Regions from separate parts of the Homo sapiens genome. Here regions 1, 3 and 4 are each linked to region 2. The links are contacts of gene promoters, found by promoter capture Hi-C in human tissues and cell types (Jung and others, 2019). All regions are on one chromosome and are shown on one strand. Each heading gives the region's core, a stretch centred on a gene start or on the middle of the fragment in contact. The rest is flanking DNA. Distances are from core to core; before and after follow the strand shown.

What was found. Contacts are between HindIII fragments. The study calls those that stand out against the background at their distance.
Region 1: the fragment with the promoter of FAHD2B here is called in contact with the fragment with the promoter of ANKRD39 in region 2 in 2 of the 25 tissues and cell types used here (H1 embryonic stem cells and dorsolateral prefrontal cortex).
Region 3: a fragment that was not itself captured here is called in contact with the fragment with the promoter of ANKRD39 in region 2 in 1 of the 25 tissues and cell types used here (stomach).
Region 4: a fragment that was not itself captured here is called in contact with the fragment with the promoter of ANKRD39 in region 2 in 1 of the 25 tissues and cell types used here (small bowel).

What each region holds. Positions count from the first base shown.
Region 1 is chr2:97,092,378-97,096,408 of GRCh38, forward strand. FAHD2B (fumarylacetoacetate hydrolase domain containing 2B) reads right to left here and starts at 2,505. Exons shown (of 9, transcript NM_001320848.2): 1 at 2,324-2,505. The HindIII fragment of the contact is 11,159 bases long and covers 1-4,031 here.
Region 2 is chr2:96,856,582-96,860,615 of GRCh38, forward strand. It overlaps ANKRD39 (ankyrin repeat domain 39), which reads right to left and starts at 1,435. Exons shown (of 4, transcript NM_016466.6): 1 at 1,307-1,435. The coding sequence starts at 1,406. It overlaps SEMA4C (semaphorin 4C), which reads right to left. Exons shown (of 15, transcript NM_017789.5): 15 at 3,137-4,034. RefSeq lists silencers at 1,096-1,265, 1,296-1,965. The HindIII fragment of the contact is 43,475 bases long and covers 1-4,034 here.
Region 3 is chr2:96,676,138-96,679,944 of GRCh38, forward strand. All of the region lies in intron 19 of FER1L5 (fer-1 like family member 5), which reads left to right. Among named protein-coding and RNA genes, the nearest start is that of FER1L5, 35 kb to the left of the region's middle. The HindIII fragment of the contact is 5,493 bases long and covers 1-3,807 here.
Region 4 is chr2:96,626,240-96,630,592 of GRCh38, forward strand. The region is part of intron 3 of KANSL3 (KAT8 regulatory NSL complex subunit 3); the gene reads right to left. Among named protein-coding and RNA genes, the nearest start is that of KANSL3, 9.9 kb to the right of the region's middle. The HindIII fragment of the contact is 4,794 bases long and covers 1-3,987 here.

The DNA of each region.
Region 1 (4,031 bases), core at 1,255-3,754, 240 kb after region 2:
ATTATTTCATTTCTCCTGATAGAGAACAAGTTGCCTGAGGGAAGAGGCTGCAGACAAACAGCAAGGTCTAGGCCTGACAGCCATCACTTGGTCATCTCCTCCCTGGATCCAGGGCACATGTCTGTCTCTTTCACTGCCCAGCACTGTGCCTGGTGCACAGAAGGCTCTCAGTGACTTTCTGCTAAATGAACAAATAAGTGACAGAAGCAGGGGCTTGACATTTCACTACTTGGGAAAGCTTAATGCTTGTTAACTTCAGGAGACATGGCTGTGCCTTTCCTCCTCAAATCACCTAGAAAGTATCCACAAGGGCCAGACGCAGTGGCTCACACCTGAAATCCCTAGCACTTTGGGAGGTCGAGGTGGGTGGATCACTTGAGGTCAGGAGTTCAAGACCAGCCTGGCCAACATGGTGAAACCCTGTATCCCCTAAAAATGCAAAAAAATTAGCCAGGACTGGTGGCGGGCACCTGTAATCCCAGCTACTAGGGAAGCTGAGACAAGAGAATCACTTGAACACAGGAGGCAGAGGTTGTAGTGAGCCAAGAACATGCCACATCCCTCCAGCCCAGGCAACAGAGCGACTCCAAAAAAAAAAAAAAAAAAAAAAAGAAATTATCCACAGAGCTCAGGTCCTGTTTTGAGTCCAAGGCTCCACTTAAAGACAAACACTATTCTCTTGTTTTGTTCTGAATCCAAGTCTGGCCACTATTCCTTACCACATGGTGCCTTCCCTGAATGGTTCCTTGCTCTTCCAACAAAGGCAGTTTGTATTGTACAGCCTTCTATGCCCAAAAATGTTGAGGCAGCTGAGCCCCAGACTCTTGGTCCTCACTTGGAGATTCAATCTGCCTTGTTCAGTTAAAGACTCATTAGACTTAGGTCACCACTGTTGTGGCCCGCCAGTTTGACTAGAAAACAGAGTTTTGACTTCTCTGCCCTGCTATCTTACACAAGCACCAACTGTGCCACTGTCAAAAGGCTGTTCGAGCCAAAGTGCACACACTCAGACACTCCACATGCTAACATAACAGTAACTGCTGCCGCTGAATGCCAACTATTAAGTGCTCTACCTACAATGTCTGATTTAATTCTTTTTTTTTTTTTTTTTTTTTGAGATGGAGTCTCGCTCTGTCGCCCAGGCTGGAGTGCAGTGGCGCAATCTTGGCTCACTGCAAGCTCTGCCTCCCGGGTTCATGCCATTCTCCTGCCTCAGCCTCCCCAGCAGCTGGGACTACAGGCGCATGCCGCCACGCCCGGCTAATTTTTGTATTTTTAGTAGAGACGGTGTTTCACTGAGTTAGCCAGGATGGTCTCGATCTCCTGACCTTGTGATCCGCCCACCTCGGCCTCCCAAATTGTTGGTATTACAGGAGTGAGCCACGGCGCCCGGCCTGATTTAATTCTTGACGCTTGTGGAAGGTAGGTACTGTTAGTCCCATTTTACAGATGAAACAGTTAAGGCTTAAAGCGGTTAAGGGATTTGCCCAAGGTTACACAGTCTTAAAGCTAGGAGGGGAGGGAGCTGGGATGTGAATCCAAGTCCAGGTGACATTGAAGTCCTTGGTTCAGAAGCCTGTAATGCAAGCAAGAAAATCTAGCTTCAGCCCCATCTTCCTACCAAGGACATTTTAACCCAGAATGTTGTGGTGAGAAGTGGGGACCTTCCATAGGAAATCCTCCAAAGGCCCTAAAGATTGTAGTGAGAAGTAGGGACCTCCCACAGGAGATCCTCCAGAGGCCCTGCAAACAGCCATGCGTGGGGAAACTACAGGCGCTCTCTGGCTATTGCCTCAGGGACGAGGCTGGTTACCAGCTCTCCAAGAGAACTCCAGGCCCCATTGACTGTTCCCTTCCCACATGACACACACATGCAGGTTCATTCCAACCTTACAGCAATCCCCTCAGGTAAAGCGCCCTCACTTTACAGAAGAGGACACTGAGACTCAAAGGGATGACGTCAGGTGCCCAAGGTACTAGTCAGAAAGTGGCCCTGGGGCTTCTGCAACAACCACTATGTCACACAGTCCGAGCTCAATCCAACTCTGCAAGAGTCCATAAGCAAAGGGGCGGCGACGTGAGGTGGAAACAGTAGCCTGAAACGTGGGTGTGCACGTCGGATCCCATCCCACCGTCCACTCGCCTGGAAACCCCCAGTTTCCCCATATGCCCAGCTTCGTCCCCTGCAATTAGTGAGGGCTCACATGGGTCCGCCCCATCCGTGTGGTCGGAAACGGCCGGGAACCTGGTTCTAGTTCTGCCCTCCGCGGGAGACCTGCGCCAGGGACACCCTTCTGGCCTAACCCAGCCAGGCCTGGTCTACCTGGCGGCGGCGGCGGCGGCAGCCGGTCCTCCTGCGCTGAGTTAGGGCTCGCGGGGCGGGAGGTCAAGGGCAGCGGGCGCCTGAGCACTGGCACCAGTCACCGCATCCAGCCGGGGAACTACAGCAGCGGCGAAGTCACTGCCGCTCGGTGCGCACTCCAGCGAGAAGCGGGCGCGTCCTGTGACGTCACAGGCAACCACCCCTAGCAGGGCACCAATCCCGGAGGGCGGGCCCAGTGCGGGGCGGGCGGCGCCGGGGGCTCTTCAGGCTCAGGGCATAGGCAGGCGGCGGCCGCGTTTTCTGGAGACGGTCGCTCTCGGAGGGACCCTGCAATTGCCCGAGACCGAGAGTGGGCGCTGCCTGAAAGTTTGTCCCTGGGCGCTTCGCTGGCCTCATCCGGTCTCGGCCTTGTTCTGGGCCTGGCGCCTTTCCCATTGTTGGGGAAAGTGGTCTAGGAGACCAAGGCAGCGTGCTGGGTGGGAGAGAATGATTTGTGGCTTCTGATTCTGACATATGTCGTTAAGGAGGGGAGGGATGAGTGACCCTGTTTTACTTATGGAGAACCTGGGGCCAGAGCTGTTTTCCCAGGGTGACACAGGCGGTGAGTAGTGGAGCTGGCATTCCTGACCCCAAAGCTCAGCGTTTCCCAGCCACTCTCCGCAGCCAGGCCTTCACCTGCACTGCTGGGCGCAGGTGGGGAAGTGGGGAAACGGTGCTCCATCCCCTGCAGAGGGCAGGCGTGCGGGGAGCGGTGGCTGAACTCCACAGACAGCTACTGCTCAGCTCTTCAGCTGCCGGCTTTGAAGAGTGTGAGGGGCTCTGGGCAAGAGGCCCCCACATTACTCAAGGACCAGATCATCAAGAGCTTTACTTGTCCCACAAAGGAGTCTGGACCTCGTTTAAGTGCACAGGAGACCGCTGGAAGGTCCTCAGTGGCGTGCCATGGCCCGACTTCTATTTGAGAAGTTTTTCTCTGGCCACCCGTCTAAGGAAAGGTATCTGGGTGGGTGGTGCGGGTGAGAACAATGGTGGTGCGGTGCTTGGCGGAGAAGGTGAGTGTCCAGAGATGTTCAGGAAGAAGAACTGACAGCTCTGGATGACAGGAGGTGGAAGTGAGAAGGAAGCAGGTACAAGGCCGGCTCCTGGGTCTCTAGCCCGGTAGGTGCAGGGCCGTTCATGGAGACAGGGCTTCTGGAGGAGCAGCGGGTCTGGGGAGATGATAGTGAGCTCCAATTTGCATGGGACATCCAAAGGGCATTGAACGGTGGGCAGTTGGAGACGTGGGTCTGGAGCTTGGGACTTCAGCCTAGCTTGCAGAAAGTCACCACTGATATAGAAATGGAACCTATGGCCGGGTGCGGTGGCTCACACCTGTAATCCCAGCACTTTGGGAGGCCAAGGTGGGCGAATCAGATCAGGAGATCGAGACCATCCCGGCCAACATTATGAAACGCCGTCTCCACTAAATATACAAAAAATTAGCCGGGCGTGTTGGCGGGCGCCTGTAGTCCCAGCTATTCGGGAGGCTGAGGCAGGAGAATGGCCTGAACCCGGGAGGCAGAGCTTGCAGTGAGCCCAGATCACACCACTGGGGAACAGAGCGAGACTCTGTCTCAAAAAAAAAAAAAAAAAAAAAAAGAAATGGAGCCTATGGGGGTGGCTGTGATCAGGGGGATGTGCTGAGGAGAACCTGGCGTAAGTGTTTCAT
Region 2 (4,034 bases), core at 185-2,684:
TTATTGTAGCGAGCTGTCCTGTGCATTGTACCATGTATACAGCATCTCTCATCTCTACCTACTACACGCCTGTAGCACCCTCCTGATTGTGACAACCCAAAATGTCTCCAGATATTCAAAGTCCCTTAAAGGGCAGAACTGCCCCCAGTTGAGAACTGGGGTGTTTAGGGAGGGTCTCTGAGGAGATGACATTGGAGCTGGGATCTGAAGAAAAGCATCAGCTAGCTTAACGGTTGTAGGAAGTTCATTCTAAGGAGATGGGACAGCAAGTCCAACGGCCTTAACTCAGGAAAAGGTCTTGCATATTTGAGACACCAAAACAAGACCAGTGTGGCTGCGGCGTAGTGATTGGGGGAAGAAAAGCATGAGAAATAAAATGAGGAGGAGAAGTAGAACCGGCAGGGGTGGGTCTACAGAGCTTTGTAGGCCATAACAGGGAATGATGTGATTTCTAATTTTCAAAAAGCCGCTCTGGCTGCTATGTGAGAGTAGAAAACCCTGTAGGAAGGCAAGCGTGGAAGCAGAAAGACCCTCTGAGGCAACCACTTCAGCAGTGCAGAGGACAGCGGTAGGAGGGGCGGAGGGAAGTAGGCAGGTGCCAGAACCACGGTAAAGGAAGAGTTCCATGAGAATGCTTACACAGCAGTGGCAATCGAGGGCTGCATCCGCAAGGGCAGATGACACAGCACAGTGGTTCCCAACGCTCACAAGAAGCACCCTGGTTTCCCGCCTTCCTCTGTTCCTATTGGCACCATAATCTCTGTATAATCTGGGCCAAACGTGTTACCTCTCTGGGTCCCACAGATGAGATACTGTGCCCTGCCTCGAAGGCTGCCCGTGCGAAGCTCTTGCCATCTTTAAAGCATGCAGGCTGCCTGGCACCCGGGGCTAAACAAAGGCCACTGCTCTCCTTCACCGCGCAGCCCCCAGGCCTGCAGCTCCATGCCCCTCAGGTTGGGTGCAATGCCCCTGGTGCAGATTCTGCTCCCCGGGCCCTCTCTCAAACACCTGAGCAGGCTTGTGTCTCCCAGGGGAGGTCGTCCCCCGCTACTCGGGAGGGTTACGGAAACCAGTGCTTCCGCTTCCCCGCCGCCCGCGGGACAGGTGTCTCCTGGCCGAGCTCGTGCGGGGCCCTGGGAGGCTCTCAGTACACGGGAACCGTGGGTCCCGCCCGCCTTCCCGCACCAGGCCCCAAGCCCCAAGCCCCAAGCTCTCGGGGCCCCGTTCATCCGCCTCTCCTTGGCCCCACGCCTCCTCCTTGGGCCGGGGCCTGGTGAGAACCACGAGGGCCGCGCGGCAGCCTCACCCCTCTCGAAGTCCATCTCCTCCAGCGTCTGCTGTACGCCGAGCACCGCGCTGGGATGCGAGCAGCAGGGCCCGTCCGCGCAGGGCCGAGGCGTCGCCATCCCGGCCCCGGCGTCAGTCGATCCGCCCCGGGTCTCAGGCTCAGCCTCGGCGGGAGGGGCGGACGCAGGGCCCGCCCCGCGTCCCTGATCTGGCCGCTCGGCGTCCGCGGCTGTCGCCCTAGTCCCGCCTTCTCGCCAAAGCTGACCAATCAAACGCCTAGGCCTTAGCTCGAGAACCAATTGCAACGGTAGGGCGGGGCTTGTTGCGCCCGGCCGTGCCCCGAGGCCTCCGCGCGAGGGCGTCCAAGGCCAAGCGAGGACTGAGGCGCTGGGTTCCGGGAGCCGCGCGCCGCTGGAGGGCCGCCGGGCCGCCTGGCCTTGCAGGGTGTGGGGATGAGGCAGCTGGGTCCGGTCGGGAGCTTTCCCGTTACCTTCGCCATGACCCAGCCGTCCAGCGACCTCGCAGCCTCCTCTCTTTACCGCCCCTAGTCCCTAGGGCAGGGAGGCGCCACGCGCTCCGCGGTCTTTTTTTTTTTTTTTTTTTTTTTTGAGACGGAGTCTCGCTGTCACCCAGACTTGTGTGCAGTGGCGCGATCTCGGCTCACTGCAACCTCCGCCTCCCGGGTTCAAGCGATTCTCCTGCGTCAGACTCCTGAGTAGCTGGGACTACAGGCGCCCGCCACCACGCCCGGCTAATTTTTTGTATTTTTTAGTAGAGACGGGGTTTCGCCAGGATGGTCTCGATCTCTTGACCTCGTGATCCGCTCACCTTGGCCTCCCAAAGTGCTGGGATTACAGGCGTGAGCCATCGGGCCGGGGCGCGCTCCACGGTTTTTAGCCCCTCTTCCTGGCACCACCCCGGACCAAGGCCGACCGCCCCCGGGGCAGCGGCAAAGTGACGGCTGGAAAGGCCTCGAGACGCCCCTCCCCGTACCCTGCTCTTCCTTACAAGTCCAGCAAGGGGCAGGTGGCCACAACTTGTCCTGCCTGTAGCTCCACCTCAGGGCAGGGGCAGGGCCTTGGTTTGTGCAGAACCCCCTGGCCCCACAGTGGGCGCTGAGTTTACGGAATCGGTCTTCATGATCAAAACCCACCGGGAGGCCGTCTGCGGACCGCGCACCTTCGCAGCGTGCTCCTCAGCGGACCCCAGCCTTCTCAATTCCCAGTTAAAACCCAGGCAGCTGCCTGCTCAAGCCACGATCAAGTGTACAGGGGAGACCGCCTGATCGGCTTAGAAAGAGTGCATGAACGACAGAATGCAGGTTGGGTTCTGTGCCAGTCCCTCTCCAGGACAGTGGTCTGGTGCACACTGGATGTAAGTTCCTTCCCCCGCTAGTTGGGGCACGGAAGACCCTAGCATTCCTGGTGGGTAGAAGGCTGGAAGTCGTTTCTCCTCCCCTAAGCAGGTTGAGAACCCCATCCTCACACAAGCAATGATCTCATCTCCACAACCTTCCACTCCTTTGGCCCCTCATTCCCACTACCCGTCTTGAGTTCTGGGAAGGCACCCCCCCCACCACTCCGCTTCTCCCCTGGACTCCCAGTGCCCTGACTTCTCCTTCTGGCCAGAAGCCAAGGCTGGCTCCCAAGGGGCTATGGCCATGGTCTCGTTCCCAGCCCCGCAGCCACCACTGTGGGAAAACACTAGAGCTGGGCTGTCCCCTCCCACAGGCAGGCAGGGACCACAAAAGTGGTGGCTGCCCTGGGATTGTGGGGGAGGCCCAGTCCAGCCTCCCTCCACCCAGAGAGCCTTCCCTCTTGGTACCCAGAAAGGCTTTAGCCCAAACATCTTAGCCCCATCAGAGCAATCGTTTCATTTTCTCCATTTTATTTGTCAATATAAAAATACTCAAATATTTACAACAAATAAATACGCGGGGACACAATAAGTTACACTGTTAGGAGCCCTCCTCCTAGGGCTGGAAGAGAGTATGCCATTGTCCACAGCAGGCCCACCCTCTCCCTTCTCTCCCCTCACACAGCCTTTCCCAGCCCTGTACAGGAAGAAGGCAAGTATAAAATACCACTGAACCCCGGGGCCAAGTGGGAGGCCCCACCCACCCTTCCCCCCAAACACACAGGAGGCTCCATCTCCCTCCCCCCACCCTGAAAACATTCACAGCCCTAGGAGCAGGACTAGGCCCACCCCAAGCCCTGCACTCCCTCTGAAGGGGCACAGCACCCTGTCCACCCCACCTCCATATGTACATCGCTGCCCGACACTCGGGGCAGTGGGGGTAGGAGAGACAAAGTGATACGACCCCTTCCCCTTCATAGCTCCAATGACTCACCAGGAGGACCCAGGCCAAGGGAAGACTTGACAGAAACAGGAAGGCTATGCCACAAGCGCGCACGCGCGTGCACACACACATACACACACACACAAACACATGTGCAAATACAGACAAACACACATCTTGAAACTTCTGCCTTGAAAAGTTTTGGCGGCTGGGGTCCCGCGTGTCTGTGATTCACAGAGAGGAGGAAGATGCCTTCTGCGAGGCTGGTGCCCTGGTGAGCCACACCAAGTGGCAGTGCCCGTGCTGAGCAGAGCAGGTCCTCATGGCCGGGTGGGTGCTGGGCAGTATCTGTCCCAGACAGAGCAGGTGCCCGTGCCATGTCCCTGAGGTAGCTGGTGCCTGTGCAAAAGTAGGAGCTACACCTCCCACGCTTCCCGCCGACGCGGTG
Region 3 (3,807 bases), core at 375-2,874, 180 kb before region 2:
CCATTTGCCTGAAAGTAATTCAGTAATTCAGTCCCACATTGAATTACTTTGCCACCTTTGTTGAAAATCAGTTAACCATATTATTGATCTATTTGCCTATCCTTATCCACCACAACCTCCGCCTCCTGGGTTCAAGCAATTCTCCTGCCTCAGCCTCCCAAGTAGCTGGGATTACAGGCATGCGCCACCATGCCTAATTTTGTATTTTTAGTAGAGATGGAGTTTCTCCATGTTGATCAGGCTGGTCTCAAACTCCCGACCTCAGGTGATCTGCCCACCTCAGCCTCCCAAAGTGCTGGAATTACAAGCGTGAGCCGCTGGGCCCGGCCTAGTTGTTCTTTTACAAAATAATTTTGGCTATTGTACAAGTCTTTGGGTTGGACTTTTGTTGAAAATGGGTTACTTCCCATTTTCCTATTTTAGCATAAGCTCAACAATTTCTACAAAAAAGGCCACTGGAATTTCCTGTGTTCGTTTTCATCAGGTATTTTTTGTTTTTTTTTTTTTTTAGTATTACATTCTATCTATTGACAATATGTATCTTTGGATTATTTTTAGTGGTTGCTCAAGGAATTACAATATTGACCCTTAACTCATCATAGTCTACTTTGAGTTAATAATATGCCACCTCACAGAAATAATTGTTTTATTATATGTAATATACCATGCAATTAATTACAGTATAATTGCATTGATACCTTACATTATCTTTGTTATACCTTTTTTTAAATATTTTTGGGACGGAGTCTCACTCTGTCGCCCAGGCCGGAGTGCGGCGGTCTGCCTCTTGGGTTCCCGGGTTCAAGTGATACTCCTGCTTCAGCCTCCCCAGTAGCTGGGATTACAGGAGTGTGCCACCACGCCCAGCTAATTTTTGTATTTTTAGTAGAGATAGGGTTTCGCCACGTTGGCCAGGCTGGTCTCGAACTCCTGACCTCAGGTCATCCGCTCGCCTCAGCTTCCTAAAGTGCTGGGATTACAGGCGTGGGCCACGATGCCCGTCCTATCTTTGTTATACATTCTGGAATTGGCTTGCTAATATTTTGTTGAGGCTTTTGCATCTATGTTGATGAGTAAAATCTTATTTTGTTAGTAATCTATTTAATGATGTAATTTACATACCACAGAATTCTCTTGCTTTGTAGTGACTCCCCTGTCCCCACCCCCAGGTCCACACAACTATTAATCTACTTTTGTCTCTGCATATTTACTTTTCCTGGATGTTTCATATAAATGAAATTATACAATATGTCATCTTTTGCATCTGGCTTCCTTCACTTGGCGTAATGTTTTCCAGGTTTATCCATGATGCAGTGTGTATCAGTTCTCCATTCCTTTTCATTGCCAAATAGTATTCCATCGTATGGGTGTACCATCCATCATTTGTTAATCCATTCATCAGTTGATGGGCATTGTTCCCACCTCTTAGCTATTAAGAATAAAGCTGCCCGGGCACGGTGGCTCACTCCTGTAATCCTAGCACTTTGGGAGGCTGAGGCGGGTGGATCACCTGAGGTCGGGAGTTCGAGACCAGCCTGACCAACATGGTGAAACCCCGTCTCTACTAAAAATACAAAATTACCCGGGCATGGTGGCACATGCCTGTAATCCCAGCTACTCAGGAGGCTGAGGCAGGAGAATTGCTTGAACCCAGGAGGCGGAGGTTGCAGTGAGCTGAGATCACACCATTGCACTCCAGCCTGGGCAACAAGAGCGAAACTCCGTCTCAAAAAAAAAAAAAAAGAATAAAGCTGCTGTGAACATTCGTATACAAGTCTTTAAGTGGAATGGCTTTTTAAGAAACTGCCAAGCTTTTCCAAAGTGGCCACACCATTTTATATTCTCCTAGAAATGTAAGATGATTTCAGTTTCTCATTTATCATCTGTCTTTATTTAGTATAGTAGGCACACAGTGGCAGCTCATCGTTGTGTTAATCTGCATTTCATGTAATGACACTGAGCACCTTTTTTTTTTTAATTTTTATTATTTATTGATTTATTTTTTGAGACCGAATCTCGCTCTGACACCCAGGCTGGAGTGCAGTGGGGCAATCCCAGCTCACTGCAACCTCCGCCCGCCCCCCGGGTTCAAGCAATTCTCTTTCCTCAGCCCCACCAAGTAGCTGGGACTACAGGCATGTGCCACCACGCCCGGCTAGATTTTGTATTTTTCGTAGAGACAGGGTTTCACCATGTTGCCCAGCCTGGTCTCAAAACTCCTGGGCTCAAGCAATCCACCCACCTCGGCCTCCCAAAGTGCTGGGATTACAGGTGTGAGCCACTGCACTCAGCCTATTTTTATTTTCTATTCTTTGAGACAGGGTCTCGCTCTGACACCCAAGCTGGAGTGCAGTGGTGCAATCACGGGCTCATGGCAACCTGTGCTTCCAGGGCTCAGGTGATCCTCCCACCTGACTCCCAAGTAGCTGGGACTACAGGCACGCACCACCACACCTGGCTAATTTTTGTATTTTTAGTAGAGACGGAGTTTCTCCATTTTGTCCAGGCTGTTCTTGAACTCCTGGGCTCAAGCAATCCACCCACCTTGGCCTCCCAAAGTGCTGGGATTACAGGCATGAGCCATTGTGCCTGGCCACATCTTTTCATGTGCTCATTAACCATTCATTTATCTTCTTTAGTGATATGTCTATTCAAATGTGTTGCCTGTTTTTAAATTGCATTGTTTCTCTTATTATTGAGTTGCAATAATTCATTATATATTCTGCATACAAGTCCTGTACCAGATATGTGATTTGCAAATTGTCTGTGGCTTGTCTTTTCATTTTCTTAGTAGTGTCTTTTGAAGTGCCAACATTTTTAATTTGATAAAATCCAATTTATTTTTTCTTTTATGGTGTTATAGCTAAGAACTCTTTGGTTAACTCATGATTGTGAAGATTTTTCTCCTATTTTTTCTTCTAAGTTTTCTAGTTTTGGCTGGGTGTGGTGGCTCACGCCTGTAATCCCAACACTTTGGGAGGCTGAGGCAGATCACTTGAGCCCAGGAGTTCAAGACCAGCCTGGGCAACATGGCGAGATCCTACAGAAATTTTTTAAAAAATTAGCTGGGCATGGCGACACACACCTATAGTTTTTTTTTTTTTTGAGATGGCGTCTCGCTCCCTCACCAGGCTGGAGTGCAGTGGCACAATCTCGGCTCACTGCAACCTCCACTTCCCAGGTTCAAGCAATTCTCCTGCCTCAGCCTCCTGAGTAGCTGAGATTACAGGCGCGTGTCACCACGCCCAGCTAATTTTTCTATTTTTAGTAGAGACGGGGTTTCACCATGTTGGTCAGGCTGGTCTCGATCTCGTGACCTCGTGATCCACCCGCTTCAGCCTCCCAAAGTGCTGGGATTACAGGCGTGAGCCACCGCACCCGGCCACACCTGTAGTTTTTACAGTTTTACCTCTTACACTTATCTGTATGATTCATTTTGAATTAATTTGCATGTGAATATCCAGTTGTTCAAGCAACATTTGTTAAAAAGACCATCCTTTCCTCATGTGTTTTCCTAGGTTACATGTTAAAATACTTACTCTGTTCCATTGTTTAATTTTCTACATCAGAGGCTCCATTTATGGGTTTAGTGATTCTCCTTGGTTTTATCTGTATCTGTCATTTTCTCCCTGATCCTTTTTTGACCTATTCTTTCCATTTCATTTCGGTTACTTTTCTTATTTCTATCCTTATTTCCATGCCCCTCACTGAATTGTCTGCAGCATCTAATCTCCCGTGGACTACTTATGTTACCTTCCCATCTCTGTTTTTGTTTTTTCTTCTACTTGTTTTCTGAAGTTTACGGGC
Region 4 (4,353 bases), core at 341-2,840, 230 kb before region 2:
AAACAAGGAGACACAAAGTACATCAGATAAACTCAACAGTCATACTTTCCTTTTTCAGATTATAAAATTCTTTGTCTAAACACTAGAAGAAGGGAAGGAATGAAGGAAGGGGAAATAAAGAGGGTGGGGGAGGGGAAGGAGGGACGATAACTCAAAGACCTTGGACTTAAAATTTCAAACATCCAACCTAAGATTTATACAGATACATACAATATTGAATATAAAACTAAAGAAGGCTCAGAAAAGGAAAATGGGGTGTTTTTGGCTGGAATTCAGAAGTTCTGATTTCTAAGATAAGAAAGCCTGCTTTTGGATACTACTACATTCTTTCACTAAAATGTTGGAAATGTCCTAAAATCCATTTGAGCAATTCTGAGAAGTATCATGTGTCAGGAAAATTTTATTAAATGTCTTTCAAAAGCTATGCAACTAATGAAACTTCACATTTGACAAACATCTGGAGGGAAAAAAAAGCTGGCCCAACATCTTCAGGACTACATCACTATGCCAGCAAATAGAAATCATTTTCAAAGGTCCTCTAAGTCACATGCCATGGCACGCAGACACAAGAACATGACCCAGGAAGCTCACTTTTTCTATAAGAGGCCGGACAGAAAATGTTTTAGGGTTTCCAGGCCATATGGCTTCTGCCACTATTCAATTTTGTGGCTTTACTGCAAAAGCAGCCATGGATAATACCTAATGAATATGACTGTATCTCAATAAAAGCTTATGCACACCGAAATTTTAATTTCATGTGTCATGAAACAGTATTAATTTTTTTGCAACTATTTAAAAATGTAAAAATCATTCCACACAAAAACAAGCAATGGGCCAAATTTAAATCAGCCCACTGTCATAGTTAGACAACCACTAATGCAGACAATTAAATAAGGTAGTAATATTTAAACCATTTCACAAAATATCAGCCATTAATAAAGAAAGCCAGAGTCAGGGGCAGGGAAGGGAGGAACATGCTTCTTTTTTTTTTTTGAGACGGAGTCTTGCTCTGTTGCCCGGGCTGGAGTGCAGTGGCACGATCTCGGCTCACTGCAACCTCTGCCTTCCAGGTTCAAGAGATTCTCCTGCCTCAGCCTCCCGAGTAGCTGAGATTACAGGCGTTTGCCACCACACCAGCTAATTTTTACTATTTTTAGTAGAGACGGGGTTTCACTATGTTGGTCAGGCTGGTCTCAAACTCCTCACCTCAAATTATCTTCCCGCCTCAGCCTCCCAAAGTGCTGGGATTACAGGCGAGAGCTACTGCGCCTAGCCTATATACACAAAGCTATCTGAAGACAGTTTCTACTGAAATCATTCAAGAGAGAGGAAAAAAGCTCTTAACAAGGAAATTAAGTTTCTGCCTCCACAGACAAAGAGCAATCAGTAAACTCTCCGGGAAAGAACTCCAGAGTTCTAGGGAGCCGACCTACACCGTTCATGGAGCTCTTGATGTGGCAAACTAATTTTACATGACTTTATATAAGAAGAAAGGAAGCAGCAATTTAACAATCAAGTCAGGGAAAGAATGGCAACACGATGATTATAATCAGAGCAGAAGGAACTGCAAGCTCCAAACAGGCTACAGATTCAGGGACAGGGTCATAAAATGGTGGTATCTGAAACTGAAACTAATAAGTTATCATAAATAATAAAATCGGCTATGTACAAAAGTTACCTACCAAAAGAGATGGTGTGTAAGCCTGCTGCCAATGAGAGAAGGCCTCCAAAATCTCATCAGACACTAAGAAAACAAATAATCTGATAAATTGAGCTTTAATGGATTACATCAATCTGTGGCAATGTGGCAATGTCATAACAGAAGGGTGGTGGTCCACAAGGAGACTGGAGAAAGATAAGCCAAAGACAAGAATCTGTCAGTGTTTCTCTAAAGGACAGGCAGGAGAAGGTGCACACTGGCCTATTCCGTGGACTCATCTTGCCTAGAGGAAAGATGTGTACATCCAGCTATTCTGCTGTGCCTCCTGTGTAGACTCTCCACTCATCTATTCACTTCTGAAATAAAATGGTTTTCCAGACTTTCCTGCTGAGAACAGACACTCTGGCCAGGCCACCCCAGTGTCTCTTATGCTTTGCAGTTATATCTCTCCTTATAAATTAAGAAACTCAGCCAAGTGCAGTGGCTCACACCTATAATCCTAGCACTTTGGGAGGCAAAGGTGGGCAGACCACTTGAGCCAGGAGTTTGAGACCAGCCTAGGCAACATGGTGAAACCCAATCTCTACAAAAACTACAAAAATTAAGAAATGGTGACGTACTCCTGTAGTCCCAGCTACTTGGGAGGTTAAGGTTCCCACCCGGGAGAATCACCTGAGTCCTGGAGGTCAAGGCTTGTAGTGAGCTGAGATCGTGCCACTGCACTGCAGTCTGGGTGACAGAGTGAGACCCTGTCTCAAAAAAAAGAAAAAAGAAACAAACTGGTATTTATAGTATTATTAAGTCTCTAATGACTTTGATAAGTATGAATTGTCCACAAAAACCTCTTAATCATAACCATGGATAAACTGACAAAAAAAAAAAAAATCACACAGTTCTCCTATGTACTTTCTGAAATTGCAAAGGACAAGGTAGTAGAAAATACCACAAAGGGATACATAACCATACCAGGCCACCTTGTTCAGCCACCACTAACTGGTCTTAATCTCTTCTTACTGCCCTTAATTAAGGCAGAGGGTATGGTAGTTGAGAACACTGGGTTCTGGAGTCAGGCTGCTTGGTTTGAACAAAATCCTTCTCCATCACTTCCTAATTAAGGTTTCTTAAACACCCTGAGCTCAGTTTCTTCATCCTGTTGAGCAGAGATGAAGGGGGGATATACCTCCAAGAGTCATTGGGAGGATTAAGAGACAATGCATTTGAAGAGACATTGATACAATGTCTGGCACCTAGAAAGCACTCAACAAACGGTAGCTCCTTTTTGTTATTACCATCGTCGTTATTTTTTATTATTAACTGTAAAAATAGTGATAAATCCTTTTGCTGAATATACTGACTCTAGCAATATTCCAGTAGTTGATCTTCATTCGTAGCAGTTTTCTTCTTTATCTGAAGCTCAAAAGAGCTTTTTTTTCTTTTTTTGAGATGGTGTTTCACTCTTGGTGCCCAGACTGGAGTGCAATGGCACGATCTCGGCTCACCACAACCTCCGCCTCCCAGGTTCAAGTGATTCTCCTGCCTCAGCCTCCCGAGTAGCTGGGATTACAGGCATGCGCCACCACACCCAGCTAATTTTGTATTTTTAGCAGAGACAGAGTTTCTCCATGTTGGTCAGGCTGGTCTTGAACTCCCGACCTCAGGTGATCCACCCGCCTCAACCTCCCAAAGTACTGGGATTACAGGCGTGAGAAAAGAGCTTCTTAAGGCACTAAATTAATTCCAATGCAAGACCCCAACCAACTTCTTCACAAGCTTTTTCAACCAAGGTGCAGAACTGCTCCTCCCTCAACAGCTGCTGTTTTGATCACACAAGCACACCTGTTCAATCTCATTCCCAACTTCCAACCAGCTTCAGAAGTCATGTCAATCACCTCAAACTTTCTACCCCTCTTTCTCTCTATTATAAAATAAGGGTTCTCCAAAATTATGGAAAGTTACCACCTACCAACTCCTGATATAAGAAGTAACATTTCCTTATATATATAGTAGATATATGGATACACAGACAAAAAGCCATCAACAAAATATAAGTTGAAACCACAATGAGATGCCACTTTACACGCAGTAGAATGGTTATAATTTTTTTAAAAAAGAAGAAAATCAGTAAGTGTTGGCAAGGATATGGAGAAACTAGAACTCTCATACACTGCTGGTAGGAATGTAAAATGGTACAGCCACTTTGGAAAACAGTCTGGCAATTCCTCAAAGGTTAAATACAGAGTTATCATATGACCCAACAAGTCCACTCCCAGGTATATAACTAAGAGAATTAAAAACTTAGATCCACACAAAAACTTGTATGCAAATGTTCATAATAGCATTATTCACAATTGCCAAAAAATGAAAACAATCTAAATATCTATCAACTGATTAATGAATAAATAAAATGTGGGCTATCCATACAATGTAATGTCATTTGGCAATAAAAAGCATGAAGTGCTGATACACGCAACCACATGGATAAACCTTGAAAACATCATGCTGGGTGAAAGAAGCCAGTAGGAAAAGACCACATATTGCATGATTCCATTTATATGAAATGTCCAGAATAGGCAAATCTATAAAGACAAAAGTCAATTAGTGCTTCCTAGGGACCAGAGAAGCTGGGAGGAAACGGGAAGTAACTGTTTATGGGTAAGAGGTTTCTTTTTAGGATGATGAAAATGTTTATCAAA